Linked DNA regions of Homo sapiens: regions 2, 3 and 4 are each linked to region 1. The links are contacts of gene promoters, found by promoter capture Hi-C in blood cells and fetal thymus (Javierre and others, 2016). All regions are on one chromosome and are shown on one strand. Each heading gives the region's core, a stretch centred on a gene start or on the middle of the fragment in contact. The rest is flanking DNA. Distances are from core to core; before and after follow the strand shown.

What was found. The method cuts DNA at HindIII sites, captures the fragments that hold promoters and counts their contacts. A CHiCAGO score of 5 or more calls a contact.
Region 2: a fragment that was not itself captured here is called in contact with the fragment with the promoter of ACTBL2 in region 1 in 8 of 17 cell types (M2 macrophages, naive CD4 T cells, naive CD8 T cells and 5 more); the score reaches 8.7 in M2 macrophages.
Region 3: a fragment that was not itself captured here is called in contact with the fragment with the promoter of ACTBL2 in region 1 in 1 of 17 cell types (fetal thymus); the score reaches 5.2 in fetal thymus.
Region 4: a contact is called between a fragment that was not itself captured here and the fragment with the promoter of ACTBL2 in region 1, in 1 of 17 cell types (total CD4 T cells). The highest score is 5.8, in total CD4 T cells.

The regions. Positions count from the first base shown.
Region 1 is chr5:57,478,201-57,485,706 of GRCh38, forward strand. ACTBL2 (actin beta like 2) reads right to left here and starts at 4,611. Exons shown (of 1, transcript NM_001017992.4): 1 at 1,818-4,611. The coding sequence starts at 4,507. The coding sequence ends at 3,377. All of the region lies in intron 1 of RMEL3 (enriched in melanoma 3), which reads left to right. The HindIII fragment of the contact is 2,872 bases long and covers 3,046-5,917 here.
Region 2 is chr5:58,440,064-58,447,569 of GRCh38, forward strand. No RefSeq gene overlaps it. Among named protein-coding and RNA genes, the nearest start is that of PLK2, 16 kb to the right of the region's middle. RefSeq lists an enhancer at 5,450-6,649. The HindIII fragment of the contact is 1,968 bases long and covers 2,427-4,394 here.
Region 3 is chr5:58,414,255-58,421,760 of GRCh38, forward strand. No RefSeq gene overlaps it. Among named protein-coding and RNA genes, the nearest start is that of PLK2, 42 kb to the right of the region's middle. The HindIII fragment of the contact is 3,125 bases long and covers 1,046-4,170 here.
Region 4 is chr5:58,392,047-58,399,552 of GRCh38, forward strand. LOC105378984 (a long non-coding RNA gene) reads right to left here. Exons shown (of 3, transcript XR_948352.2): 2 at 1,806-1,902. Among named protein-coding and RNA genes, the nearest start is that of PLK2, 64 kb to the right of the region's middle. The HindIII fragment of the contact is 1,101 bases long and covers 3,144-4,244 here.

The DNA.
Region 1 (7,506 bases), core at 3,361-5,860:
GCACTAGGAAAAGGCTGGAGGATTCAAAGGGGGAATAAATACTGTCCCCGTCTCTGTCCCCCAGGTGCATATTGATGATATTGGGGATGGGAATGGTGGACACATGTTTGCGATGTGTTTATGAGGCTGTATGCATGTAAGCAATACAGTAGGGATTCAAGGGAGGAGTTGTCACTTTTTCTTGGAAGAGGGGATCCTTTTCTAGACTTTCGAAGGATCCTTTTGAAATGAGCCTTTAAAATTGTGAACTTTTTTTGTTTCACATTTTTAAAATGAGTTTCTGGTACAGTCCAATGGAAGTATTCAAAATAAGAATTAATCACCATACCAGCCCCAATAATTAGTGATCATAATGCTGCCTGAGACACTTAAGAAAAGTTTTTGTGTTTAGTACAACTTGTTCTTTAAGCACAGTCTGGCATAGGACATTGAATTAATAATTGTGTAATGAGTGAACAAATATGGCAAAGTCCTTGTCACCCAAAGGATTATCCTTTGATTGCCTGGATAATGTAATACTCATATTTAGGCCCTCTGTATTACAGAATTGTGCATTGCATATCTAGATAGGGTATAGTTCAACCTGTATCCCAGGACTACTGTAGCTCACTATTGAAAAATAAGCACATTTATATGTTAGGAAAGAAGAGTAGAAGAGTGTCGGAACTGGCATTGGATCAGTCATGTTTTCAGAAAAATATTACCTGTGATTGGGAAATAACAGTGTGCAGGGAATTGTGATACAGCCCTGGCCTTATATTGCTACTCAGGAGGCATCACAGAGGGAGAATGAAAATCATTTACAGAGGTATGAAATTAATCTGAGAAGGCTGCTTCAGTGATGTCTCATCCTCAGAGGAAGATGGATGAAGCAAGTGTCTGGAGACCTTTCCTGTCCATGGAGCCTGTAATGTGCTGGGATTTTGAATTCTGTGGAGCTGTAATTCCTCTAGTTGGCTGTGCATTCAGATTTTTAGTGCTCATTCTAGACCCACTGCTCTGAGCCCAGGGCCAGGGACCCTATATTTATATAAAGTTCTCTAAATAACTTGGTTGATGAGCCAGGCTAATGATACATGAATAGCATGTTAATCGTATTACCTATGTAGATGTCATTCTTTGATTCTAAAATATAAAGTTGTGAAACAGGCTGTTTCTTCATTAAACTCATCCATAAGTCAGTCAATGTTGATAAAGAGAAGAATATCCCACAACTCTAGGTTTAAGTTTCTGGCATTTTACCAACTTGTTATCTAGAAATTGTAGATTTTATATATAATAAACTCTTAAATTACCACAGTAATTCAAGATTTATAATGCGTAGTTTGCATTATGGGGCTCATATTTTCACCTAATGTTGTGGGGCTCTATAGCTCACTCTCTTGTAAGTTCACATTACCTGTCCCATTTATAGTCTGTGGGTGGGAAGTCATATTTTTTTTTTTTTGGTAATTCAGAATGCAGGTCAGAATGTTTGTGAGAACTACTCACTCTGCAAATGGAATGCATTGCAGCATATAAATCCAAAATATTATGATTATTATTGTTGATGTTGTCTCTGCCTATTAATTACCTGAAGATCAGTTCATCCAGTAAAACCCAGCTTTAAAATTTAGATTATGAGACATCTATATAATGTTAAATGGCTAGCTATCCTTTTTTTAAAATTTGCCTTTTAATGTTTACATGATTAAATGTATGAGGTGCAAAATTGTAACATACAGATGAATAGGTCACACATATAAAAAGAGATGCTATCTGGATCATTCTCTAATTCTAAGGGAATGGTTGAGGAGAAATAACAGGAAATCTAAGTATACAAGTATGAAGCAATTTTAATGTACTGAAAGCAAGTTATATAAAATAAAGTGTTTTTGGAGATTAATTTTGGTTACATGCATTTTAAAGATTATGTTGTCAGATAAAGCCAATAAGGAATAATCAAATTATTTGAAAAGTATTACCTTAAACAAAAAATTCTTACTGATTCCATTTTAAAGATTTATAACATAAGTACAAGTTTCCCAACTAAGAAAAAAAGAGAAGTGATTCCTTCCTCCAGAGTACCTTATAATGCCTGAATAAGCAATCCAAATAAATATTTTAAATTTTCAGAAATTACCCTGAAAAATACAAATAATGCTGATATCCAAATATTCAGAAATCACTGCATAGATTGGAATAAACATACTGGTACTTAAAATTGGTTAATAAATCATCACTGGAGTAACTAAAATATTTTAGACATTATAGGAACATACATTGATATTTTCAAAGATGTTAGTATCTCAGAGACACTTTGCATAAATAAGTATTGCTAGTTACTGGACATAATAAAGTAGAATTATTCTAAAAGCTTTCCAAGGATAAAACTGTGTTAGTATACTGGTAGTAAAATGTATAATTAATAAAGATGCTGCAGCTATATTTTCCCACAGTGAAATCCTTGCACAAGAGAAGTATCTGTAATCCTGGTCTACAGAAATTATTTAAGATGTGCTATTACACTAAGAAATAGAAATAAAATTACCTCTGTCAAATTGTACCATAATGACATTAATTTGATATTATAATATCTATCTCTCTTAAGAATTAGACATTGTCTGTAGTTTTGGTATGAGAAGGTTCAGTAAGAAAGATATTAAAATATAATTTGACCAGCAGAACTCCACTATGAGCTGAAAATTTAGATGATTTATAAACATTAATGGAATGGTGGCTGTCTCATTATGCTTATTTAGTAAGGGAAACAATTAAAATATGTACCTAGTACAACGATGACTTTTGGGAGTAAAGAAATTCACATTAGCTGTTCAGATAGCTAGATACATCAGCATATTTCACAATATATTTTATTTCCCTGGTGCTTATGTATATATGGATATTATTGAACTTTATAATTCATTATCTCCATACAAAGAAGTAAACAAAACAAAGATACTTAACTAGTAAGACACGGCTGCTAAATGCATACGCACCTTTTTTTTTTAAACAAGTTTATACAGCCTGTTCTTGTTAAATATTTTAGCGAGAACTAAGTTTTAAAGCTTGATAATTATAGTTATCCATTCTGAAATGACATTTCTCGTGATTTTACTCCTTGTCACTTATATGTATTTAAGCTGGCCTACCTATCTTTGAACAGTATAGGCAAAGAAAAAGGAATATGGTATTAGAATTCACCTTCACTTGATGGAGAACCGGATGTGGTTATCTGGGTAAGAGCCCAGGTTACTTGGATGGAGAGATGGGTTTGCTGGTTTACACTAGGAAGAGTGACGTATTTACCTCGATTCTACTGAAAGCGGATAAAAGCAGTACCATCACTGTGACCTAGGAAAAGGGAAAATGTAAGCCCACTAATATGGAAGCCCATTCAGAAACATTTTCTGTGAACGATAGGAGGACCAGCCTCATCATATTCCTGCTTACTGATCCACATCTGCTGGAATGTGGACAGGCTGGCAAGGATGGAGCCCCCAATCCAAACAGAATACTTCCGCTCTGGGGGAGCTATGATCTTGATTTTCATGGTGCTGGGTGCCAGGGTTATGATTTCTTTCTGCATCCTGTCAGCAATGCCTGGGTACATGGTGCTCCCTCCAGATAACACGGTGTTGGCATAGAGATCCTTGCGAATATCCACATCGCACTTCATGATAGAGTTGAAGGTTGTCTCATGGATCCCACTGGACTCAATGCCCAGAAAGGAAGGCTGGAAAATGGCTTCAGGGCATCGGAAGCGTTCATTCCCAATGGTGATCACCTGCCCATCAGGAAGTTCATAGCTCCGTTCCGGTGAGGAGGATGCGGCTGCCCTGACCATCTCCTGCTCAAAGTCCAGGGCTACGTAGCACAGCTTCTCTTTGACATCTCGCACAATCTCCCGCTCAGCAGTGGTGGTGAAGTTATAGCCTCGCTCTGTCAGGATCTTCATGAGGTAATCAGTCAGGTCTCTCCCTGCCAGATCCAGGCGTAGAATGGCATGAGGCAGGGCATAACCTTCATAGATGGGCACGATGTGAGTGACCCCATCCCCAGAATCCATCACGATGCCTGTGGTCCGTCCTGAGGCATAGAGGGACAGCACAGCCTGGATGGCGACATACATGGCTGGTGTGTTGAAAGCCTCGAACATGATCTGAGTCATCTTTTCCCGGTTGATCTTGGGGTTCAGGGGTGCCTCGGTGAGGAGGATGGGATGCTCATCTGGTGCCACACGGAGCTCATTGTAGAATGTGTGGTACCAGATCTTTTCCATATCGTCCCAGTTGGTGACCACTCCATGCTCGATAGGATACTTCAGGGTCAGGACGCCTCTCTTGCTCTGAGCCTCATCTCCCACGTAGCAGTCCTTCTGGCCCATGCCTACCATAACGCCCTGGTGTCGAGGACGCCCTATCATGGAGGGGAACACAGCCCGGGGGGCATCGTCACCACCAAAGCCTGCCTTGCACATCCCTGACCCATTATCCACTACCAAGGCAGACAGCTCATTGTCAGTCATGGTGCTGGCTGAGATCTTCCAGACGAGTGAACAGGACAAGTGAATAGACAGTGAGTAAGAGAAAGTGAACAGGCCTAAAACACTCCAGAAATGCTTTCAGACACGGGAGGCTGCACCGGGACCACAGGTATTTAAAGGAACACACTGACTCCGCCCATGTCCTACTCCACCAGTTCCCAGCATTTCTGGATGAGGTCATCTCTGAGGTATTAATGATGGTGATGATTACATAAACAATTAGATCTTTCTACATAAAGAGAAAATTGGCTGCCAAGTGGTCAAATCTCAGGTTCCTGTAATTAGGCAACCCACACATGACCGTCAGCCTGCCTGGTGAGGTCTCTAGATAACTATGATGATGCAGTGGGGGATATAAAAGCAAGATGAAAGAAAGCTGGTGCTAGGTATGGCAACACTGCTGGGAGGAAGGCTCCCTCCTTAGCGTCCCTGAGGATTCACTTTTCCTACACTAGCTTACCTTTTCATTCTTAAGATACTGTTCTGATGAGGGGTCTTACCCTGCAATCTTCACTTTTTCAAGATTTTTGTTTCCATTAGATTCCTAATCCCACAGGGTGTCATCATCGTAGAGACTGTTTTAGTAAATGAAAATAATAAATGGCTAAGGATGGCCTGATGGCTGTAATTACAATGCACTTGTGTCAAGCAAAATGTAGAGATATTTAATAGACTTCTAATCCATCAGAGATCAAGCGAAAGGAATAGAATGATTGCTAAAGTTAACCCATATAGATACTTTTTTCTGATATAAATTTCTAACAACCAAATTTCATTAAACATTTACTGTGTCTAGACATTGTTCATAGAACCAGGTTCATTGGGTCCATGTTAATTGTATAATGACTGAATGTCAACTATTTTGCATGATTTATTAAGATGCAGGTTATAAAAATTTATTTATTTGCAACAACTCTTGAGTTCTGCAACAATGGACAAAATGAAGTGATAAGACAAATTTGAAAAATTATATATTTAAACTAATCCTTAAAACATTTTGATCTTCAAGATACATATACTATATTATAACATTAAACCTCTATGTAGTTATTAAAATCTATACAATTAGAATTATACTAGCTTTCCTTCCATTTCAAGATATATTACACCCTGATCACTTCATAGCAACAATTTGTTTGGGTTCCATGTTTCATATAGAAATACAGACTACCTGAAAAGATGTGTATGATGGTAAAATGTAGGACATCAGCAATGTGTTACAGAGAAATAGCATTTAAGAAAGCTCATTACTTCTGCTCCCCTATGTGTTAGGCGAATAGAATATAATTATCTTTGTGAGCTCTTGTAAAGCAAAGAAATTTTCCATGTCTACATCTGAGTTCTCCAAAATAATCTTTATTTGGGTTCATCATTCATTCATTTACCCAATAAAGCTTGCTTTGTAAGAGGTAGCACAGCCCCTATTTACTGGACAAAAAACACCCTCCAGCTCAAGGCCAGGAGAACTAACCTGAGTCTTTGCCCAGTGAGCCTCTTGGAGAGTCATGGTGTAGCATCAAGCTGTGAGCATCCAGCCCTCTTCTTTGTCTATAGCTTGATATAGATTTATTTTATCCAGTGCTGTAATATGCCTTCAAAACCTTTCTGGTGACAATCAGTCATGGCAGAATGTATGTTTCATCACAAGATCCATGGTTTTGCTTTAGGGCTCACCAAAACAGTCCTTTCCTTTAATCTTTTCTGTAACTGCAAAATTCCTTCTTCAACAGTGTTAAAAACCTTCACACTGAATGGTTTTATGAACTTCCTTGTTATGTAGTACAACCAAGCTTTTGATTAAAACAACATTTTATTGCTATAGGATGGTGCTTCTGGGAATTTTTTAAAATCCCATAACAAACTACATGCACATTTTACAAAATGGAAAAAATGAAATACACATTGTATTTAGCACAAGTCCCCATTTATGAATGCTCCGGTCTGGAATATAAAACAAAGCCAAGTTGGTGGAAATGTTAGTGGAGGAGCCCACATAGTACCAAGTGCAGCCTTAGATCCTACACTTACTAGAGTGCTGTCCTTAGAATCACCTTCAACTAAGGGATATTTGGTACTGAGTCCACACAGCATAACTGATGCCTTGAGAGTGTGGCTGATGTGTGATTTTGCTAGAGACTGTCTAGCCTGCTTTAATTCCGGTGTCCCAGGAGCAAATTTCATCAGTTATGTATTCTTAAAATAAGCTTATGCTCTTCTAATTAACTCTCAATAATGCAAGAGGTGCTTATCACAATTCAACAGCCATTAAAAATGTCATCTGTTGAGTTGGTTAAATTTTTAAAAAGTAGTAAGAATTTGTGTTGAGTAAAACATAGAAAGATGGGTTTACAAATACTGGGCTCTGGAAGCTGTGAGTAGGGAGTACTGTTCTTGGAGGTAACAGACTTTGTAACTGACCAGAATTTACAAATGTTTAATTAATTACCTAAACCTTTAGGGCCCTTCAAGGTTCACTCATGGAAGCCCAGAATATTCTTTTTCTTTTACATTTTGCCTAGTTTGACTATCATGCAGATACACGAAACTAGAGTGAGGTTTAAGTATGGGCATTAAATATGAAGACAACTGGTGGAAGCTACCGTGTCTCCTTGCCTTGTCTTTGTCAACCTTAGACTTTTCAAGCAATCCGCAAACATTTATTAAACATCTCCTATGTTCTGGGCACTGGTGATATATCAATGAATAAAACACAGCCCTATTTTTAAAGAGTTCACTGTCTTGTGGGTGAAAGTCACCTTACCCCAGGCCGACAGGTGGCCGTTTGGCACTGGTATGATACAGCCGGCTTATGTTCTGATAGGGCTCTGCCAGCGCTGTTCCAGTTGTTAAAGATCTTGAATGTCACTCCCAAATACACAGATAACAGGTATACAACACGGGAGATGAGAGAAGGAGCTCAGGGAGACATAGAGGTGGAATGAGGGGCCCCTGAACCTGAGGTCAGGGCAAAGAGAAGGAGA
Region 2 (7,506 bases), core at 2,161-4,660, 960 kb after region 1:
TGTTCATCTCATGCCCACAAAAACAAGCACACGATGTTTGGAAAACAATCTACAATAATTTCAATGGGATCAGTATGTTAGAATATAACCAAATGTTGAGATTCTCTCTAATTTATTGACCTGAAATTCCTTCAGGGTCACAAGAAACTTGCCCTACAGACATTTGGTGTGTTTTAGTATCAGACTGGTACTACAGCAATAGTGCTAGGTCAAATATCAGGATGTGTAATACTTTTTCTGAAAAGCTCATTGTGCTTCACTGAAAAAGTCACTCAAACACATAGAGAAATTAAGACACTGCCTGTGTAACTGAAATAAATGATTTTTTTTAAAAAAATCAGTTACTTTAGGCATTTCAATGCTGAACTCACTAATGGAGCAGAAGAATGAGAGCTTGAGTCTGCTTTACAGGAATCTGGGGTACTGTGATACAACCTATAGTATCTGCTATTTTTTAAAATAACAATTTTTTTTTAATTTTCAATAAATATATTGACATATCCTAAAGATACTTAAGACTATATTTTTGATTATTAATTCTTGGAAATCTTTAAATACATACAATGAAAGTCTCATTTTAAGTTATTAAAGCTCCCAGTCTTCATTTCTGTTTTTGTTTTTCTCACAAATAAAATTAAAATGTGGCTTCAAGAAATCATAATATGCCATTCTTATGTCATGAGTGCTAAGAGAAAAGCCACTTAGAATCAGGGAAGACCAAATGAATATTTTAAATTGTGATGTAGTACACTAGTGTATTATTTACATCACTAAAGCAAACCACTTGTTATATGCCTGGCATAAAGCACATTCTTACTTTTACTTCTCAAGGAACCCCATAAAATATATCAATTCAATTGCAATTCTAAATGTATTAGCAAATTGGTAATGTTACTAAGTTCAAGGAGAAATTCTTTTGAAGTATCTAGGAATCCAGAAGAACATTATTTTACAACTTCCTTTCCTAGATAAATAATTATGACGTCTTTGTGTGTTTAGTTAGCATTGGCATTTCAGCTAATATTGACCAAAGAAGCTAGTGTGGCTATATTTAAACTCTGTCAGAGTTTCACCACCACATCACAGCACATTTTAAGTATTTTATAATGAATGAGACCTATTATTGCCAGAGCACACTTCAAATTCATTCATTTTTCCTCTCAAATTGTTTTTCCAGTTATGTCTGCCAAAATTGTAGCAAATCACTTTTATTTGAAACAAAGATTTCATATTTCTATTTCAGTCCTTCCTCTCTGAAGCCAGGATGAAATAACGTTGCGATGTAATACAACAAACCATATACTTCCAAGTTGAAATGACAGGTAATTGATTATGAGTCAGTCTGCAAAAGATTGGTGATTAGAGAAACCATATCCTGCTTAAATACATTTCTTTCATTCTCATAAACCAGATGGTACCTTGTGTCACTGACTGTCATTAACAATTTTTACCACCACAGTCATAGTGGTCAACAAAGCAGATAAAGTAAAAAAATAATATAATGTGTAGTAGGATCTGAATAAATGTACATAGCCCGAATTCATTTTTCTGCTGTTGTGCTTAATAAAGCCTAAAAATAAGGTCATAAATGCTTATAGCATGAAAAAAATTTAACCTACCTTTATAGGAAAAGCAATTGAAATCAAAGGTGTGGTAACATAAGTGGGTCATGCTAAATGCATCTTAGCTACATTAAACTCACATGGGATAGCAATGAGTATTTCATGGGATAACCATATAATTCATCTTAGAAATGCATACTTTTTTTGAGATGGGATCTCTCTCTGTCCTCCAAACTGCAGTAAAATGGTGTGATCTTGGCTCACTGCAGCCTTCACCTCCTGGACTCAAGCAATCCTCTCACCTCAGGCTCCTGACACACCAGTTGCACACTCAGGTAATTTTTTTTTTTTTTTTTTTTTTTTTTTGGAGAGACAGCATCTCGCTATGTTGCCCAGGCTGGTTTTGAACTTCTAGGCTCAAGCAAACCTTCCACCTCAGCCTCCCAAAGTGCTGATATTATGCAGTAAACCACCAATCCCAGCCAAATACAAAGATTTTTAACTGACACAAGGCATGATTAAGAGTTTCCCAGGTAAACTGTGTAGTCACCATCCGTATATATGCACTGTGCCTTTGGCAGTACACAGCTGTTCAGTACTGTGAGAAAAAAAAAAAACGGACTGTTTTATCAATAGCAAGCTTAACATGTTCCAAACCATGTAGTGGATATTGAAGGATGCATCTCAGTTGAATTGAATAAAGCATAACTGTAAAGTTATGCTTTATAATTTTGTATAATAAACTGTTTAAAAATTATTCAATTAAGATTTCTTGATTTTCCTACCAAATTTTGTTTCTATGTCACTTTTGGACATAGAGGAGGAATAACTCCTTTCTTCATGCCATTAAAGTAAATCAATTGAAGCTTACTCTTCTACAACTATATTAAATTTTAACTTAAAAAATCTTGCTTTAATCACTTCTTGGCCTTTTGGCAAAGAACAAGTGTAAAAGTCTTGCTCTAATGTACTCAGTGTGATATATCCTCATGCTTTGTTTGTTAGGTTCTTCCCCAAAAGTGGTTTATGAAGAAGTCTTTATAGCTTCTACATCTGTCCTGTTCAGTGTAAAGGACTACCAACATGCTCTCTTTTAAACACAAAATGCCTTTTGCAAACCAAAGTGGACATGGACAAAAATTTATTTTAAAACATTTCAGTTCTGCCATTATAAGAAAATAGAAATTTGCAAAAGGCAACTGGAAACCACTCTTTATGATCTGGAGATGGAATATCTACATTGCAAAGTTACCTTAGCTACCTGGCCATCCAGTTGATCTCTGCACCATAAATTTCTCCCTCTAGAAGGGAGATTTTCTTGCTGAGTGAGGTTGTGGATAAAACATGTAACAGCTCTGGAACCACAATGCAATGGTTTGAATACATCCCCCAAATTTCATGGTTGGAAACCTAAAATTCATATGTTAATTAGAGGTGGGGACTTTGGGAGGTAATTAGGATTAGATAAGGTCATCAGGATGGGACCCCATGATGAAACTGATTGCTTTAAAGAAGAGGAAGAGAGACCTGAGCTTATATACATGCTCTTGCTCTCTCACCATGTGATGCCTTCCGCATCTTATGACACAGAATGAAGATTCTCACCAGATGCTAGCTCCATGCTCTTGGACTCCCCAGCCTCCAGAACTGTAAGAAATAACTTCCTTTTCTTTAAAAATTACCCAGTCTGTAATATCCCAATATAGAAATGCAAAACAGACTAAGATATATGATGTCAAAGTTGGTGCTAAATTTCCTGTTTACCTAATTATTGTCCTACTACAAGAAAGATCTGAACTTACATTCCAATCTATCTGACAGGTTCAGGATCTTTTTAAATTAAATGTATCTTATAAAGGACAATTACTTACATATATCGACAAACTATGTTCCAGGGAATATTCTTTGTGATCTTAAAAGGCACTCTAAAGCAAAATAATGTGTCAGTGTGTATAAGTTTGGAAAAACTTTTGCACTCTATTTCTCTCTTGGAGATTCATAACGCAAATTTAGGATATGGAAGTTCTAGAAAAATCTTGACTTAAAGAAATCTGTTCATTTTATTGAAGCCACCAATTCCCAAAAGAATTTGCCAGTTAATATGTTTTTCAGGAAACATTTTATAATATCAAAGATATTTGGAATTCCTGAAAATACAGTTGGGGAAATTTTTTAAAGATAGTTGAGAAGGGACAATAATAAGAAAAGGCAACATAAAAGGAGTCAAAATGTAGGAAATGTTTATATGACTTACCTTTGATTTTGTCAGTCATAAGAGAGTAAACTGGCTGGGTGTGGTGGCTCATGCCTGTAATCCCAGCACTTTGGGAGGCTGAGGCGGTTGGATCACCTGAGGTCAGGAGTTCCACGCCAGCCTAGCCAACATGGCGAAACCCTGTCTCTACTAAAAATACAAAATTTAGCTGGTTGTGGTGACATGCATCTGTAATCCCAGACACTCAGGAGGCTGAGGCACAAGAATTGCCTGGACTCAGGAGACAGAGGCTACAGTGAGCCAAGATCGTGCCACTGCACTCCAGTCTGGGTGACAGAGCGCGACTCCATCTTGAAAAAAAAAAAAGGAAAAAAGAGTAAATTGCTCTCTCTTTGGGATATTCCTCAATTTGATTCCCCCAGGAGCATGATGAAGGAAACAATTAATAATTGAAAAATTCTAATGATAAATTAAGTATAAGATATTCTCTTTATTGAATGACAACAGTATAATATGACATAAATATCAATAACTACTGACATCAATATAAAACAAAGAGGTAATATGAATAGAGAAATAATAAAGATATAATATTAAAATAATTAGAGAGGGGAGGAAGCTTACTTTCTAATTTCTCCTCTTGCTATATTTTCGAATAAGAAATGGTTTTTGTTGTAGGTCAAAATGGTCAAATACTCTCAATATTATATTGTTCTATCTAATGAATTCTAAGACACTTTTTATTATTATATTTGTTTTATAATATAAAAAATAGGATCAGTGTCATGTTCATGATTGTTCAGCAAGCAATTGACCCAGTTGCTTCAATCTTGACATATCTAATTGAAATTCCAAATGTTTTCTGCTATATGGTTTTAACTTGAGCAATTGTAGGATGATTGACTTAAAATAAGCATATGTGTGTGTACCTCTGAAGGAGAAAAAATCTGAGAGAAATATATCAGATTCTACAAAACTCAACTGTTATTCTGTTTCTTTAATATCTAGGTAGAAAGTTGTATTTGGAGGAAGATTTAATTGCTTCAACTCAGAGTATATTATTTATTTAAAACCAAAAAGCCTAGTGCTTCTCTTGTGCCTATTGTCAGTCACTGGCCCTTCCCTATGACTAATCTATATTGAGGATATTTGGAGTTTAATCCTGAGTCACTCTGTAGCAAAACTGCCAGGTATACCTACAGGATAGTGAATAGAAACATGAAAGGTTTGCCTCATTAAAGAATTCATGAGGTTAAATCCATATGTAGCAGGTGCAACTTGCTGCTATAGCTGCCCTTTTGCCACCCATATATGTTGCTTTGCCTCAGATGATTATCTTATTCTCTCTCCCCATGTGGTAAAAAGAATGAAGAGATTAGCCACATAAGCTCACATAGTCCAGGTATTTCAGAATCAGTAAAGTGAGTCTATTCACAAGCCTAACAAAGGAAATGAGGATAGATTATGGCAACTGCTAATGAAATTTATATTTCAACCAACAATACAATTAAGTGAGGGATGATCTCTTGTTCCTAGTTGACTAAACTGCAAAATTCACCTTTATCCTAAATTTCATTATGAATTTAAGAGAATGATATGAGTTGAATTTAATAACCTTATGTCGATCAGGTGAAAATTCAGGAAGAAAAGAAGCCGTCTACATCGCGGTGGATGCCTTGGCTTATGAAAACTTTGGTAGGTCTTTATTTGTCAGACTTATTCTTCCATTTCTTTTCAGTGCTACCGAAACAGGAAAAGTTCCCTCGTCACCCTTGCAGGGTGTGCGGTGGGGGTGTGTCCTGCTTCTTTGGTCAAATCTCTAGGGGGAACATGCAGACAGGCTCTGGGGCTCTGAACTCACAGCAGCATCTAGGGGTGAATGTTTACAGCACCGGAAGCTCCCGCAGGCATGTGTTACCATGTGCTCTTTTAGTTTTGCCATCTGTAGGTGGCTTGTGTTTAGCAGCTCAATCAGACCCCCTGACTTATGGCAATGTGTCCGGAATTTATTCCTTCCAGTGGGTTCTTGGTCTCGCTGACTTCAAGAATGAAGCTGTGGACCTTCACGGTGAGTGTTACAGCTCTTAAAGATGGTGTGTCCGGAGTTTGTTCCTTCAGATGTGTTCAGAGTTTCTTCCTCCAGCTGGATTTGTGGATTTGCTGATCTCAGGAATGAAGCCGCAGATCCTCGCCATGAGTGTTACAGCTCATAAAGGTAGTGCAGACCTAAAGACTGAGCAGCAGCAAGATTTACTGTGAAGAGGGAAAGAACAAAGCTTCCACAGCGTGGAATGGGACGCGAGCAGGTTGCCGCTGCTGGCTCAGGTGGCCAACTTTTATGCCTTTATTTGGCCCCGCCCACTTCCTGCTGATTGGTCCATTTTACAGAGGGCTGATTGGTGCGTTTTTACAGAGCACTGATTGGTGCATTTACAATCATTTAGCTAGACACAGAGCGCTGATTGGTGCGTTTTTACAGAGTGCTGACTGGTGCATTTACAATACTTTAGCTAGACTCAGAGCTCTGATTGGTGCATTTACAATCCTCTAGCTACACAGGAAAGTTCTCCAAGTCCCCACCCGACCCAGGAAGTCCAGCTGGCTTCACCTCTCAGCAAGGACAGAGGGCTTTCTGTATCCTGGGGTTTCTTGCCTTGGTGTACCAAAAGAGTCAAATCACACATGGGCTTGGAGAAAGAGTGCAAGGGTTGAGTGGAAGTAGCTCTCAGCAGATGGGGGAGCCAGAAGGGAGATGGAGTAGGAAGGTGGTCATCCCCTGGAGTCGGGCCATTCAGTGGCCCTCCTCTGACCACCCGGCCAAACTCCTCATCGTTCTGCGGATGGATGGCCTGCAAGCCTCTGCTGGTGCCTGTTGATGTGATCTTCCGGGTGCGTTCCTCTCAATATCCAGCTGCTTGTGTCTTCTTCCGCCCGTGTGTTTCTCTCCACATCCAGGTGCTTGTGTGTGTACCCTCTAGGGTCTCGGGGTTTTTATAGGCACAGGATAGGGGTGTGGTGGGCTAGGGTGGTCTTGAGAAATGTGACATTTGGGCAGGAAAACAGAAATGTCTGTCCTCTCCTCAGTCCGTGGGCACAGGCCTAGATATGGAGCCCTAGCCAAAAGAGTCAAATCACACATGGGCCAGGGACCTGCCTTTCTCTATCCAGTACTTCCGTGCCCCAAGCCCGATTTAGTACCTGACCTTTAACTCCACTTAAACCAATAATGCTTAAAAATGGCAGAAGGTAGCTTTGGATGAAGCCCACACTTTCCCTAAAATCACCCAAAGTACACTTTCTGGAATTAAAATCAGCGTTTGTAAACAACTTGGAAATAGACAGGCCCCCTGAAAGTTTCACCTGACTCTGCACTAGGCTCACATTCAAACGTCTGAGGCACCAGCTGAGTGAATCAGGCAAGCAAGGTCCATGGAGAGGGCTGTCTCTTCTCTGGGGGCAGGCACTTCTCAGCTCCAGCTGATTGTTGATATGTAGAAATGTCTGATCATATTGTCTGATCATGAAGTTTTGCAAAGGAAGTCAGAAGTTTTAATTTTCATCTGAATGCTCCCAATGACTAACTGATGACAATTGCTGGAAAATATTTTAAAACCCACTCTAAAACTCGCTGTACTTCAAGCAGATGTCTATTCTCTGGCAATATACAATCTCAGCTCTAAAGGTTTGCCTTATTCTCTACATGGATTCCATCTTTGCCTTTCATTTCTA
Region 3 (7,506 bases), core at 1,358-3,857, 930 kb after region 1:
CATTATAAGAGACACAAGAAAAAAAAAACACAGGCATTTCAATTCTTCTTTGAGAAAGAAGCTAGACTTTGGTTGATAATTATGTCTCCTATCAACACTGGCCTGCAGCCCGACAGCTAACACTAAGCATCTGACAATTTGAGAGCCAGATGTTTTTGTACTATGTGATTTTGTAGAATTTTTGAATCACAATATATTGCATCTACCAAATATTACAAAGAATCCTCAGCAGTGATCCATCAGAGGTCTAGGGCATCATCTTATAATTACCACACTACTACATTAAAATATGCTAATATTCACTCTGAGAGGAATGAAAAAACATTATAAATAGACCTGTGTCAATTCATGTCAACATTTACTGCCAAATGATTCAGGCCAAATAAGGTTTTGTCACCGAACAAGTTACAAAAATCTTTTCATTTTTTCAGATCTTTTGAATTTCAGAATTGGAGGAAAGGAATTGAAGACCTGTACCAGACATTTCCATAAGATGTAATGCCATCTAGACAGATGAGCAAGCCAAAATGGCTTTTCTTTCAATAATCTTTTGATTATATAAACTAAGCCAAGAACAGACATACATGTGCTCAAATCCGTTTTTGCAAGCTATATAAAAGAAACTCAACCAGAAAGATCCTTTTTTATGCGTTATTCGATATTCTGCTCCCTGACTACAAATTTCTACTTTGGAAAATCTCAGCTCCAGCAGCTTGGAAGGAAAGCCCATGTTCTACTGAGAAGAGAATGTATAAACAAATGTGAAAAATACCTACTCTTATAGTTTGGAAGAAGTCAAAGTAATATTTTTTCTTTCTTTTTTGTGGTCTTTAAATTGTGGCCTGAGTGAGTAGAATAAAGACTCTTGTCCATTCATCTCTTTTTCCTCTACCTTTTGGAAATGTAATGGATGTATGTCCAATGCCCAGGAAACCTGAGAAGAACCAATTTCAAACATTCCTTTCCCCATAACTAGTGTAATTTTAAATTCATCTGGAGATTTGGAATACTAACCTATCCTTAGAAGGACATGTACCAAGCGTAAAGCTTTGAAGATCTCTTAAACCCAGCAGTTATAAAGCTGGGAAATGAACTGTTGTTGTTGATATCAATTATTAATCGAAAATCAAGGCAAGGTAACAGTTGATAAGTTACTCTAGGCTACACTAGAGTCAAAGTCAAAATAATAGACTTATTGGAAAACTTTTAAGTCCATATATTGGCCCCAGTCTATTAAAAAAATGAATAAACCTATCATTTGATTAAGAATTCCACTTCTGACAGTCTATTCTATATAAATACTATTACAAGTATGAGTAGACTGAAGGGTATACTGATGCCTTTATTCATTTCAGACTTGACCTCGAATCTCTGGGCTTATTCATCAGCTTTAGGAGCCAGAGCAAATTGCCAATTTTTTGCAGCTTGTTTTTGTGGCACTTTTGTGCAAATTACGAAGTGCTGCTAACTCTAGGAGGGTGAATTAGAGCACAAATGAGGGCAGGATGTCAACCCTCACCTACCTCCTTAGTGGAGCACCTCTGTGCAGAGCACAAACCCACCACTCTGTATGGGGCCCAGTCATCAAAATGATAAATTTACTGAGGGTGATGACTTCACAATTTAATCTGTTTTTACAAATCATTATTTAAAGTCTTTGTGTTCTCTGAATTTCAAGGCCCTGGGACAAAGCATTTGCTTTTCTACCTTAATTACTGGCACTAGCATCACCCTATACTTCAGCTCTGCTTCCCCTACCTAACCCTATCAATTACTGAGATTGTGTCTGCTGTGCTGGTCCTTACCCCTCCAGATCCACCTTCCATCATTCTATGCCCTGCTTCCAGCTCCAAAGGGCTCACCTTTTCTGATTGTGTAATCCAGGTCTCCTTGTCCTTCTTGTTGGGTTTGACCAATGAGAGATGAAAAGGCTGGAAGTAAAAGAGAGATAGAGGTATTGATTCCCAAGCCCACCACTCACATCTCCCTGCTTGCCTGTTTGCTGGATTTGGTGGTTTTCTAGGATTATACCTTTTGAACTCTCAGGTGGTCTCACCTCTGTGTCTCCAGGTCTCCAGCTCTCTTGGGATCCAATAACACTGCTTCCACTTGCCTCCCACTCCCCATCCCACCCCATGCTAATAGTTTTCCACTGTTGCCATTTCCTGAGAGCTTCACCATCCATTGCTCCTTCCCTTAATTCAGCCACACCTCTGCAAGGAGTAGAGTTTATTCATGAAACTCTCTTCAGCTAAACCCTTTGAGTGTGCCAGCATGCTCCCTGCCTCTTCTCTTCATCACAGGAAGTCTCAAATTTGTCCTAGTCTTTTCTTTTCCACCTCCCGTCATGGCCTCATGCTCTCTCTCCTAAACATTCATGAATATCTGAATGTAATTGCTTTTTAGCAGCCTGTTCTCATTAACACTGTATCCAAGTGAAATTCAAAGTATATTAGATGGGCAGTGGCGTCATTGAGGACGTGCTAGAAAATTTACACAATAAAAAAATACAAGTTTTGATTTAAGTAACACCGTGTGTGTTTTTTAAGGCTATTTATTTAATCAATACCTACTGAAGGTCTTTTCTAGGTACTCATAACAAAATTATGAGCACTAACAGGCACAACTCCAGTTCCTACTATAACAGAACTTACAGTCTAGTAGAAAAACAGACTTCATCCAAATTTTACTTAATATTTATGTATTTGTTACTTACTATGTGTCAGTCACTATGCTAAAAAGTTTACAATATTTAGTTCATGTAATCCTTTTAACAAATCTAAGGAAAAAATGCTATTATTACCCTCATTTCACAGATAATACTACTAAGACACAGTGCTTGAAACTACCTTGCTATGCTATTACATCTATACAGGAAATGATCAATTACAAAATCACCGCCAAATTTGTTTTAGTGATCATGAGAAACTTGAGTCAATGGTATAGAATAAATTTACTCTTATTCCAGACTTATAGACCTATCTAAAACATACCATTATCATATTTACCAGTTGAACCAAAATGTGCTGCCTGCTGGTATATATACCAGATACTATCTTAGATGGTGGAAACACAGAGGAAAGAGAGTGCTTGAATTTTTAAAATTCCTCCTTAAAATTTGTGGGGAGGTGAGAAGGATGTTGGGGAAGGCATAAAAATACATGGCAGTTGACTTATGTCAGTACAAATCTGTCTTTTCTGAGGCCCCAAATTTCTTTTTCTCCAAGGCTCTAACCTACCCTCAGTGACCCTGCTGATAATATGGGGGAATGACATAGTGCGAGAGGACAATTGCAATAAAAAATAATCAATTCTGTCCTAACATATGCACTACCAATGAAAGAAGCAGAGAGGAGGGACACAGACCCAGTGGGGTGGGTCAGGGAGCACACTGAGAGCTGTTGAGGAATGAACCAGACTTGCAGAACAGGCAAAATTACTCAAGAGAGGTGGGGGAACACAGCTGTCCTCAGGTTCTGTCTAAACGTACCTCATTTGGTATTTTTAAACTTCCTAGTAGATTTAGATACCATATAAGGTGCAAATACAGACTCAGTTCTAGGGCTCATATTTGAGATGATGGTTAGAGTAGCCACTTCACTAGAGGCATTATAAATAGTGGTGAAGAGCTTGGATTTGAGATTCATGTAGACCAGGATGTCAGTCTCTGTCATTTTTAGCTGTGTGACTGAGTAAATTAATTTTCCTTTCCTGAGACTTGATTTTCTTATCTGTGAAAATGTAATTCTAACAACAGCATGTGCTTCACAAGGCTGTTGTAAAGGCTTCATGCCATAACACAAGAAATATGCTTAGCACATTTCTTGAACTATACCCATCTAGACACTTACTAAAGACCTTTAGTTACTACACAGATCTTTTCCTTTGACTAAAGAAATAGAGAAAACCTCAAACAGTGCCTCTAAATATGAAAAAGGCTCTATTCAGCCATTGGGCTTTGGAGATATTTAATATATTCTAATCACAATACTTTTGACCTTTGTGTTTGAACTTGGCTTCCCACTCTTTTAGGCTTCTCCTTTCCTTTCAGTGGCAATGAGGCTTGGGTCCTAACTGTCATAGAATAGTTATCCATACCAGGATGTGATATCAGCCAATTCCACAAACCAGTAGTACTCACTATGTGTTCCTGATGCCTGCGGAATCTGAAGCTTACCTCTTAGGTGAATCAGTATTCATATTGGTAAATATCACTTGACTCCAGACATCTTTCTAAAACCTTGAAAAATTCAAAGCATAACAAAGAAATTGTTATCTTGAATAATTTCAATTTTTGATCGTGTTGTCAACACATTTATGGTTGCATTGTCTTTATTAGGATTCTTTCTTTCACTTTTTAAATCATTATTATTAATAATATCATTTTGCTCATCCTATCTCCAGCTATTTTAAAAACTTGGTAAACTTATTCTATAGATATTACCACTGAAGCCTGATAGAAAAATTTAGAATGTGCGTAGAACTCTGGCAGTTAAATAGAAGTTGGTATATCATCTTTCTATTAATATGAACTCAATTAATCCAAGTTTCACTTTGCAAGTGGTATGTATTTATTTCAGCAGATTAATCTAGCAAGGGAAGTGAAGACCATATTAAAGGTATTTTTGTCTCCAACTCATAAATAAATCATTATTCTACTTTCAGGTTATCAATTCTTATCTAAAATAATCCAGAAAAGAAGATTTTGCATTCTTTTGGTCTGTATGCTAGTGCTGAGTACACAATATTTTTAAAGATTGAAACTAAATTGTTTTACCTGTCCTGAAATCTAATGAACTTCATTGTAACAACAGCTTTCAATATCATGAGTTTTGCAAATTTGTGTTATCATGAACCCTTAAATTGCATCTTTTCAATGTGTTAGTACATTTAAATAAATTTATAATTCATTTTTATATATAAAGCATTTATGTGATTCAGTAATAAATAATTTATTATAATGGTAACTTGTATAATTCACTCTCACAGCTTATACCCTTTAAAGTTCTAGATTAGAAGGGAAGATGATGGAAACTGTTGCCAGTTCATCATAAACAATTTCATTTCATTTTTTTCCACTATACATATTGAGATAATATTTCCCAGGTACCCTTTGTAGTTATTTGTGGCCTTGTAAACTGATCTCTGGCCCATGACATGTAAGCAGAAATTATGTGTACCATTTAGAAGTTTAAAAGTTTAAGATGTGGACACACCTTCCGCACTATCTTTCTCATTGTTTGCTGGATCAGTGGAAGTCCCCAAGAACCTAGACTAAGGTAAAGACACAAAATGGAAGAAGCTTGGGCCCCTGGGTCATTAGCACTGGACTTCTACCTGAGAAGGGGAAATTGGAGATTTTAAGTTAAGTGTGTTGGGAAAACATTGGGAGGTCTTAAGCAGGGAGTGCTATAATCCCCATGATAGGAAATGGGTTGCAAGGAAATGTGGTAGCCATTCTCCAAGGTAGTCCCTAATGACTCCCACTTCCAGGAGTTCATACCCTGGGAAGTCCCCTCCCACATTGTACCAGGGTTGGTTTGCATGATCGGTAGAATACAGCTGAAATGATGGCATGGCATGTCCAATATTAGGTATTAAAGACACTGTTGTTCCCATCTTGGTCACTCTCACTCTCTAAGAGCACTCATTCTGGAGAACATCAGCTGTCATGCTATGAGCAGTCCTGTAGGGAGGCTTACATGGTGTGGAATAACCACATGAGTGACCTCTCTTGGAAATGGATCTAACCCTAGTTAAGTTTTCAGGTGACTACAGCACTGACCGGCAGTGTGACTGCAACCTCATGAGTTACCCTCAGCCAAAATCATCCAGCTCAACCTCTCCTGGATTCCTGACCCACCATACACTGAGTGGTATAATCAGTGTTTGCTGTTTTCAGCTGCTTAGTTTTAGATTAATGTGTTTCATAGCAATAAATAACTAATATAAGAGACAAGAGTAGAAACAGGATGATCAGGCATAAAGACTATTGCAGTGATCCAGGGAAGAGATGGTTATAAATATTAATTAAGATAAATGAGAAGATTATAGATTTGCTTTAAGAAAAGCCTGGCCTGATATATCAGTATATGTGAAAGGACCTGGAAAACCTCAACTCTCTCCATGCAAGATATTGGTGTGATTTGGGGGCAGAAAAAGTCCACTGAAGCTTCACCAAAACGTAAGAGTGACAACATTGATCAGAAATTGATTCTTCTGCTCTTTGCGCTGAGTAGGCCATTCTTGGAGCAATTAGTCCAATTCTGGGTGATACACTTACAATAGAGATTAAGAAACAAGACCTCATGCAGAGAATGCTCTAGAATTGTAGAGTGGCAGCTCAAGCTGGGTGATGAGAGGGGTCACATGGAAAAAAGTGGGTGGAGTTTTTCGATCAAGTGTTCAATGTATGGGGGGTTGGGTGTCAAGGATGGCTTTGAGCTTTCAGACTAACACAACTGGTTGGAAAGGTTAGTCACTGAGAAATGGAATAATAAAATCGGTCTGGGAATTAGGCAAGAAGATCATAAGTTCAGTTTTGGATATGTTGAATTTAATCTAATTTGGGGGGCTCTAAGATGACTTTTCAAATAAACAGTTAAATAGATGGGTACAAAGCTCAGAAAAAAAAAAGGTCAGAGCTGGAGAGCACTGCTGTGAGTTATCTGTACATGTATGTAATAATTGAAGCAGGGGTGCAGATGTGTGAACATCGGGCTGCATCTTAAAGAACTCCAATATTTAAAGATGAGACAGAGAGAAAAGTCCTGTAAGGGACACTGGGAAGGAATGGCCAAAGAGATAGGTGGAAAATCAGGACTGAATGTTGGGTTTTGGAAGTCAAGAAGAAAGATTATTTTAAGGATGAAGTCGTCATTGGGTTAACCACTCGCGAAAGATGCACTAAGAAGAAAACATGAAGAATGGATTCTTCTGTGCTAAATAGATAGAATTCATAAAGCTTCTCTTCCAGAGGATTTTGGTTTTACTTTACTAACTACCTAAATCTCATACTTATGAGAAGGCTAAGAAGCTTTTTAACCTCTTAGAAACACCACGGAAGACCATAGGAGGCTTGGTATAATATATTCAGATTCAGAAGGATGCACAGTACTACTTTTCCCAAACATAGAAAATAGTACTTGTAGGTTATGATTTTATCCGATTATTTACATTAAATTTTAAGGCACCCATAGTCATCATGCTGATTTCATTTTGAAAATGTAGATAAAGATAAGCCTGATATTTCTAAAAGTCCTAACAATTAGAGAAACAATTTGTAATAGTGTGGGTAGGAAAATGAAAGGGAGGGAGAAAGCTAAAGAATGATACAGGCAAATATATCATTAGAAAACTCTAGATCATCCTCATTTGTTTTATTTGTTGTGAGGTATTGGGATGTATTGTAATAGTTTAACTTATTCCTGGTGCTCAATGCTTATGACACAGTGCTTTTTTAATAATGGAAAATAACATACAAACTTGAATCAGACAAACCAGAAT
Region 4 (7,506 bases), core at 2,444-4,943, 910 kb after region 1:
ACACTATGTCAGCTCCCATTTTTATTTTTAACAAATAATCTCTTTCTCCTTAGGCTCCACAGTGCTTTTTAAAAAGAAATTCTTTAATAGTTCTCTAAACATCAAGTTTTAGTCATCCTCTTCAGTAATTGTTTCTTTAATTGCTCCTTAAGAAATCAGATTTTTTGGCTGGGCGTGGTGGCTCATGCCTGTAATCCCAGCACTTTGGGAGGCCAAGGTGGGTGGATCATTTGAGGTCAGGAGTTTAAGGCCAGCCTGGTCAACATGGTGAAACCCCATCTCTACTAAAAACACAAAAACTAGCTGGGAGTGGTGGCGCATGCCTGTAATTCCAGCTACTTGGGATTAAAAAAATAACAACAACAACAAAAAAACAGATTTTTAAAAATTGTTTTTGTCAGTTTTGGTCCCTTAACTCTTCCTTCTTGATTTCTGTTGACAATCATAGAAACAACTACCGAGGCTGCCTCTAGAAATATTCAGAGGCTTCCAAGCTCCTCTTTGGGAAACACTGATTGGCAGAACTGGCTCTCAACAGCATTTATGAGAAAGGGTTTTGCTGTTCCCCCTGCTGTGTTTCCCAGCATCTGTTCATTCTTACTGCTTCCCCACCCCAGATTTCCCGGGGCACAGCTCTTAGCCTCCACGTCCCTTCACCTCAAAATGCAGCAGTCCATCTTCTATTCCCTGTCTGAATCATTCCGCTAAATTAACCTGATAAACCAATCTGCATTGATTTGTGGTGCTGGGTAGAAAGTGGGCTTCTGTCTTGCTGCTTCTCCTTGATATGTTTGCATTTTAAAGGGAATTTTAAGCAGTCCCCACTCATACAAATAACTGACTTTAATATGGAAATAAAATATCTCATTCAGAGCAGGTATAGGGAGGCTAAAGTCAGCTCATGCATGTGAAAAATAATAAAGCCCTCGATAGATTTAAAGAGTGATTGTTTTTATTTCTCTCACGGGCAAGCAAAGGAGGGAGCTCTTCGCTCAGTTGCTTCTTAGGCCCCTTAAGGTACATCATTTAGGTGCTGCCTATTTCAGCACAGGGAGCTGGGATTATAGGTGCTGCTCTAATTCCAGGAAAACTGCTATGGCAGGAAAATTAAAACAAGGAGGGAAGATAGAACCCAAGATATATGCCTAGAGACTTCATACATAAGTGTGGGAAAGAGGTTTGAGATAATCAGCATGGTTTTCTAGCATGAATTATTATGGATACAAAAGTGATCACCCAGGCAGCGTGTGAGAAGGGAGGAAGACTTGCTGCCTCCTCAGCCTGGTTCCTAGAATGATTATGCAGGGAGCTTACCTGAGTTCTGAGAAGGGAGGAGGACTCTGATTGGAATCCTGGGAAGCAACTATATGTAAGAATCAGGCCAGAGAAGAGCAGCTTGCAAGGGACATGTTCAGAGGGGTGGGAAGAAAAGCAGGAAGTAACACCACTACCAAAATCACCTATCATTTATTGGCACTTTCTGTGTTAATCTTTTCATATGCATTTTTCTCCTAGTTATCACAGCAACCCTGTGAGATAGGAATTATGATCTCTCTTAAACAGACATAAGTCAGAAACAGCAAGTAATTTGCCTAATCCACAGAATTGAGGATTGTCCTGTTGGGGTTCTATGGATGAAACTATTGGCTCCACTTCACAACTCCCTGTATTCACACCTTTTGCCATGTGACTTTGCGGTCCCTCTTACCGGAGGCATGGTGTACTTCCTCACCCCTTGACTGACTTTGAGCTTGGTCATTTGAGTTTTATAGACAAAAGGAATGTGGGCAGAGATAACAACGTACCTGTTTCAAACTAGGACTTAAGAGGTATGCCAGGCTTCCACTTGCTCTCTTGTGTTTCTGGCATCACACCAAGCTTGCTGCGTCCTCAGCCTGGTTCCTAGAATGATTATGCAGGGAGTTTACCTGAGTTTTATCTGCAGCTAGCTGGATCTGCAGCTTGAGGTACACTCACCTAGCAGATCCCCAGCTGATCCACGTGACTAAATCTGGCTGAACCATCCCAGCTGATGTTCTGACATATGAGAAATAAATTCTTATTATTGTATTCCATGAAGAGTATATGGTTATTTTGTTACACAGCATTTTTGAGGGAATAGCTAACTGATGCAGAAGTGAACTCAGACAGTATGATTCCAGAATCATACGCTCTTTTTGAACCTTAAAGATATCAGGGAAATCAGAAAAGTCGAGTTTAAAGAGACAAAGAGTAGCCATCGTGGCTATATGCTGCAAGGTTAAATAAGATAATTGTAAAATGTAGCATTTCAGAGCATTTTCTGTATGCACAGGTTTGAATTACAATGCAATACTTCAGCCAAACCACAGACAAGCAGCAGGTACAGAAGTTTCACGCAAGAACACTGTGACAGGCAAGCAGATGTCTCCAGAAAGAAAAGTCTATTTGAACAACTGGCAGACATGAATTCTACCTCTAATGCTGGAACATCCGGCAAAGAAGCCTTGAGGGGAGGTGACTAAGTAACAACAACTATGGAAATCAAGCATAAGCTAATTTGCTGTACATCAATACTGTAACCTAGAAAATCTATGTTTGGTGATGTGTGATCCACAGGCAATCACCATAGAGAGCAAAGCATAAACATAATCAGACAATTTAGGTCTTACTATTCTATCCTTTTTTATTTGATCATTTTTATTAGACATAGGTATATAATGATCATTTTGAATTTACTATAGTTTTATTTTAATCTTTCAAATACAATCAAGAATATAAGATATTGACAAAATGGATAATTTCTTATTTGATCCACAGAAAATGTGTACATATTTGATCTTAGTCAAAGGTTGTGAGGCAAGAAGAGCCAGAGAGAGCATCTGGATGCTTGAGCTTGAGTATTGAGTATTCACAAGCACTATACCTGACCTTACTGTCCAGACTGCATATATCTCATCTATAAGAGGAGAGCAAATCAATCATAGTACTTGCTTCCAACCTAGATTACTTATATAACAGCCTTTCAGCTCTAAAATTAAATAAATCTCTTAAATATCACATAGAACTCTTGTGATTAACTTCTTAGAACATGTTGCTAGAAGAATGAAGGAATTTTTTAAAGAAGGAAGCTTGCAATCCCTGACAAGACTGTGATATGCGGAAGCTTACAACCAATCCCCACCCCCACGAACAAGGCTAAAGAAAAAAAATTTAATGAAAAACTTTCATCAGAATTGGATCTAAGGAACTGTGCAACCCTTTACGACAAAAGTTGATGATTTTGGTTTAGATGGAGTGTGTTTAGAATAATATCAAAGACTGACTCACAAATCCTCTTTTCAAAAGAATGGAGCAATATTACAGAGAATAAGCAAAGGCGACCCCAGGAATGAAAACCCTGGCAGAATATTCCAGAAGACTTTACTTTGGAGGGCTTGGCCAAGTCCCAAAGGGCACTAGAGAATAAAGTATCACCGCCATGGATTAACAGCAGCTCGAGTCTCCAGGAGCAGCACTCTGAGAAACAGTAGCAGCTATACCCAGTGAACACCATGGGAGAAGTGTGCGTCTTTATGACCCAGCTTCTCAGTGGAGTCAAGAACTGATTCCAACACGAGATGGTACTTTCAAAAATGGAGACGAATCCCCTAATCTGAAGGAGGGAAAGCTAAAGATGATGCTAGACTGCAGAGAGGTGGGGACCAGCTTACCTAGAGCTGCTGCAGTTGAAGAGCATTCAGGAGCAGCTGTGCTGGAGGGAGACGAGGTCACTGCTTCTCTGCGACCGGACTTTCTCCCCAGTGCGACCAGTTTGCTCTGATCTGCGAGGACCACTTTTTAAAAATAGAGAGATCCCCGGTGGAAGAGAGAATCCTCTGCTTCAACAGGAAATCTACAGCCTCCATGAGGGAGATCCAGAAAAACATAGCCACACTTTGTATCTGGAGTACAGATTGGGCCAAACTGAAAGCCAGAGACAGAAAGTTGGTCCCTGGTGCAGGGGTCTTAACCAAGATTTTTTAAAAAACATGCAGAGCAAAAATTGCCCTCCTGAGACTCTATACCACATCCTCACTCTCATTTCCCCTCCAACTATAGACACCCAAGTTCCGAATTGGTAATACAAAGACTTTTTTTCTTAATTTTCATTCAGGATTCCAAACTAATTTTGAAAAGGAAGGCCTTGTCAGAGCCCAGGAAAACCAGGAAGAAACCATAAGAAACAGCATAGATTATTTGGGGGCATCTACTAAGCCCAGATAAGCTTGTCCTTATTCAAGAATGAGTAACCAGAAGAAGAAGAAGAAAAAAAAAAAGAACACTTTTGAGTCTATGATGGGATTCTGCAATGCAAAAGAAGACAAAGCATGAAAAGATCAGGTGAAAGTATCAGCTGAAGAATGACAAAGTTTATAAATTTCGAAAGGAGACCTTGATTTCTCATAAAGTGTTGCAACCTGCAGGTTGGCTATTCTGACAGGCTAGGAAGCATAGCCTCAGCCAGAAGCTGGGAAGGGGCAAAGGGAACAGGAATTTATAGGAACAAGATGGACAAATATGCATATTCAATAAACTATAGGAGGAGTTATGAATATTTATGAGAGGAGAAATGTGCACATACGCAATGGAGTTCAATGCTCCTTCGTGGGTCCCATGTACAAAAGTGGCTGCATTAGCATCATCTAAGGGTGGCATTTTCAGTTCTTCTATGTCAAAAGGTGAAGCAAAGGACACCCTTACTGCACATTCTCCATAGACTAACCAGAATCGTTCTGTGGTTGGTGGTCTCTTATCAGGCAGAAAAGGAGGGGCAGTGTCAGCTGGTTGGTTGATATCAGTGGTGGACTCTTGAAAGGGCTGGTTTCTGTTCAGCCCTTAGAGAAGAAAGCCTCATCCTGGTTAGAGAGGGAGGAGGTACAATGAGGCGTGTCTAACCTCCCATGCTCTCATGGCTGAGAACTCAGTTTTCAAGCTTATTCTGGGGTCCTTGGCCAAGGGATGGTCTGTTCAGTCCATTGAAGGGCTTAAAAGTTTATTTTGATTTCTCAAGAGTATACTTTTAAAGATTTACTCAAGGAAACGTAAGTGAAGTTTTAGGTAGAAAATGCTTTGGCTTCTCAAAGAAATTAAAGAAAGCATGGTAAAATGAAACAAAGATGATAACACAGAGGCTGGAGATAAAGTGATAGTAGGCAGAGCTGAGATAAAGTTTTAAAAAGCAAAACCAATGCAGAATTTTCAATAGTATCAATAGAAAACACAATCTACATTGCAGAAAATTAAAGTACTGATAAATACTGCCTTGAAAACAATCACTTAGATTTCATAGGAAAGAATATGAAGAGATCATTAGAACATCAGAGAAAAGATGATAAACATAAAAAACAGTAAAAACATAGAAATAATTTGCTTTTCTAAAAATATTAGAATAAATGACATGAAAATAATATGGAAAGCTATAGTAGAATCCCGCCCATCAATCTGATAAAAGAACCCTTTGGTCGAAAAGAAGACTCTTCATATCAGGCAAATTTTACAATAATCAACTGACATTTAAACAAAACCTAGGAAAATCAGTGAATATATAGGATCAAGAAAACTAAAGACACATACAAACACCTACATGTAAAAAAGAACACCTGTGTATCATCAAAGAGAAAAAAACAATCAGACACCTCATGTAGAACATCAGATATGAGAAGACAATAGATCAATATGCAAAGTTTTGAGAAGACAAGACTAGGAACTGAAAATTTTACATTCATTCAAGTTACTGTTGCTGTGTATAAGCAACGGAAAGACATTCCTGTACTTGCAAAGACTCCAGAAGAAAATCTTCAAAATCTGGCCCAAAAATTTAGCCCAAAAAAGTGGATAAAATTAAGTACTCACAAATGGCATAATTGATGAAGAACTAGTGTTGAACACAAAAATCATGTAAGTTACCTTTAAAGTTACAGATGGAATCTACTCACATATTTCTTTTATAAAACAAGGTGAATATCATAGTATTTATAAGAATGTAATAATAATTAATTGGTACAAAGACTGCAGAATTTATAATAGTCAAAAATGGGAGGTGAGTGTGTGGGGAAAAGATATTTAAGTATGCTACTTTCTTAATCTTAACTAGTCAAGCAATAACAGATGCATTTCATTCCTGGCATTGATAACTGGAGTCATTTAGATTAGTAGATTATATAAGGATCTTAGTTTTGTTTTGTACCAGTATTTTCTTTCTTTGGTGAGAATAATCAAGTGATTGACTTTTGAGTTTGCCTTCTAGAATACAGTTTGTTCCAGGCCAAGAATAAATTTCAGCCATGAAACCTGAAATTAGCTTCTTGAAAAGTATGAATTCTTGATGCACAATGAAGCATAATCCATGATTACTGCCAAAAGATGTGCTCTGTTATCATTACCATTAATTTGTGAGGCATAAAAAATCCAAGTATTTTTGAAATTTCCTAAGTATTCTTCATATGATTTGCTGAAAAAGATTAATGTTAATTTAGCTGACTAGAAGAAAAAATAAAAGAAAGCAGAAGTGTTAAATATGTAAATTATGTGTATGCCTTTAGTAAAAGTTCATCTTTAATCTTGTTCAAAAATGTCTTTCAGAATGTCAGATAAAACTCTCTCATTTGGCCCCTCTCCCCTTTTGCCTGGCTACAGAATTTAGAGAAGGTAGCTGTAAAATACCAGGGATAACCCACGGCCGTTTCTAGCCTTTGTCTTTGAACTCTGACATGTCAAGGTCAGGCAGTAGGCCCAGTAAAGTTGCACACAGGAGTCCAGGTGATCATGCAAACTCCAAACCAGGTGATAGTACTCCACATTCACCCAAGCACACTTATGCCTGAATGGAGACTTAATCAGCATTACCAAATATGTCCTGGAGTATCTTTAATGTTCCATAGGGCAGCTGATCCTATTGCTTTATGTAATGTCTTTTAGAGGCACACTGTTGCTGACAAGCAACCTTACCAGAGTTAAGAAGCAAGAAATACTCATCCTGAGTAACAAGAGAGGAATAACCATAAAACACTAAACTTGGCACTTTACTCCACCTATAGCCAATGCCAGAAGAAGAGAAGTAAATTGGAAGAAAGAAAACAGACACTGTGGAGTATCACTTTTGAAATAATAGACCCTGCTTAATGAAGAAAAATGAAGCTCAGAGAAGTTAACATGTCCAGGTCAACATAGTAAGTGATGACACTGGGATTTCAATCCAAGTCAGATTCCCAAACCTAGCACTTAGCACTATAATCTTCTACCTCTTAAATTTGCTAGGGATTAAAATTTTGATTTAAAAACAAGCCAAAAAAGATATAATTTTCATACTCTACTACTAATAATTCCTGGAAAGGAAGAAATTTTCAAAATATGGAAATAGGGTTTATATTTGACTTAGGCCCTTCGAAGTGGAAATCTTTGGTTTGGACCTGCTTTGAAATTTTAGAATGGATATTTGAAATGTTTAGTGTTTAACTCCATTCATTAATTGAAACTACATGCACA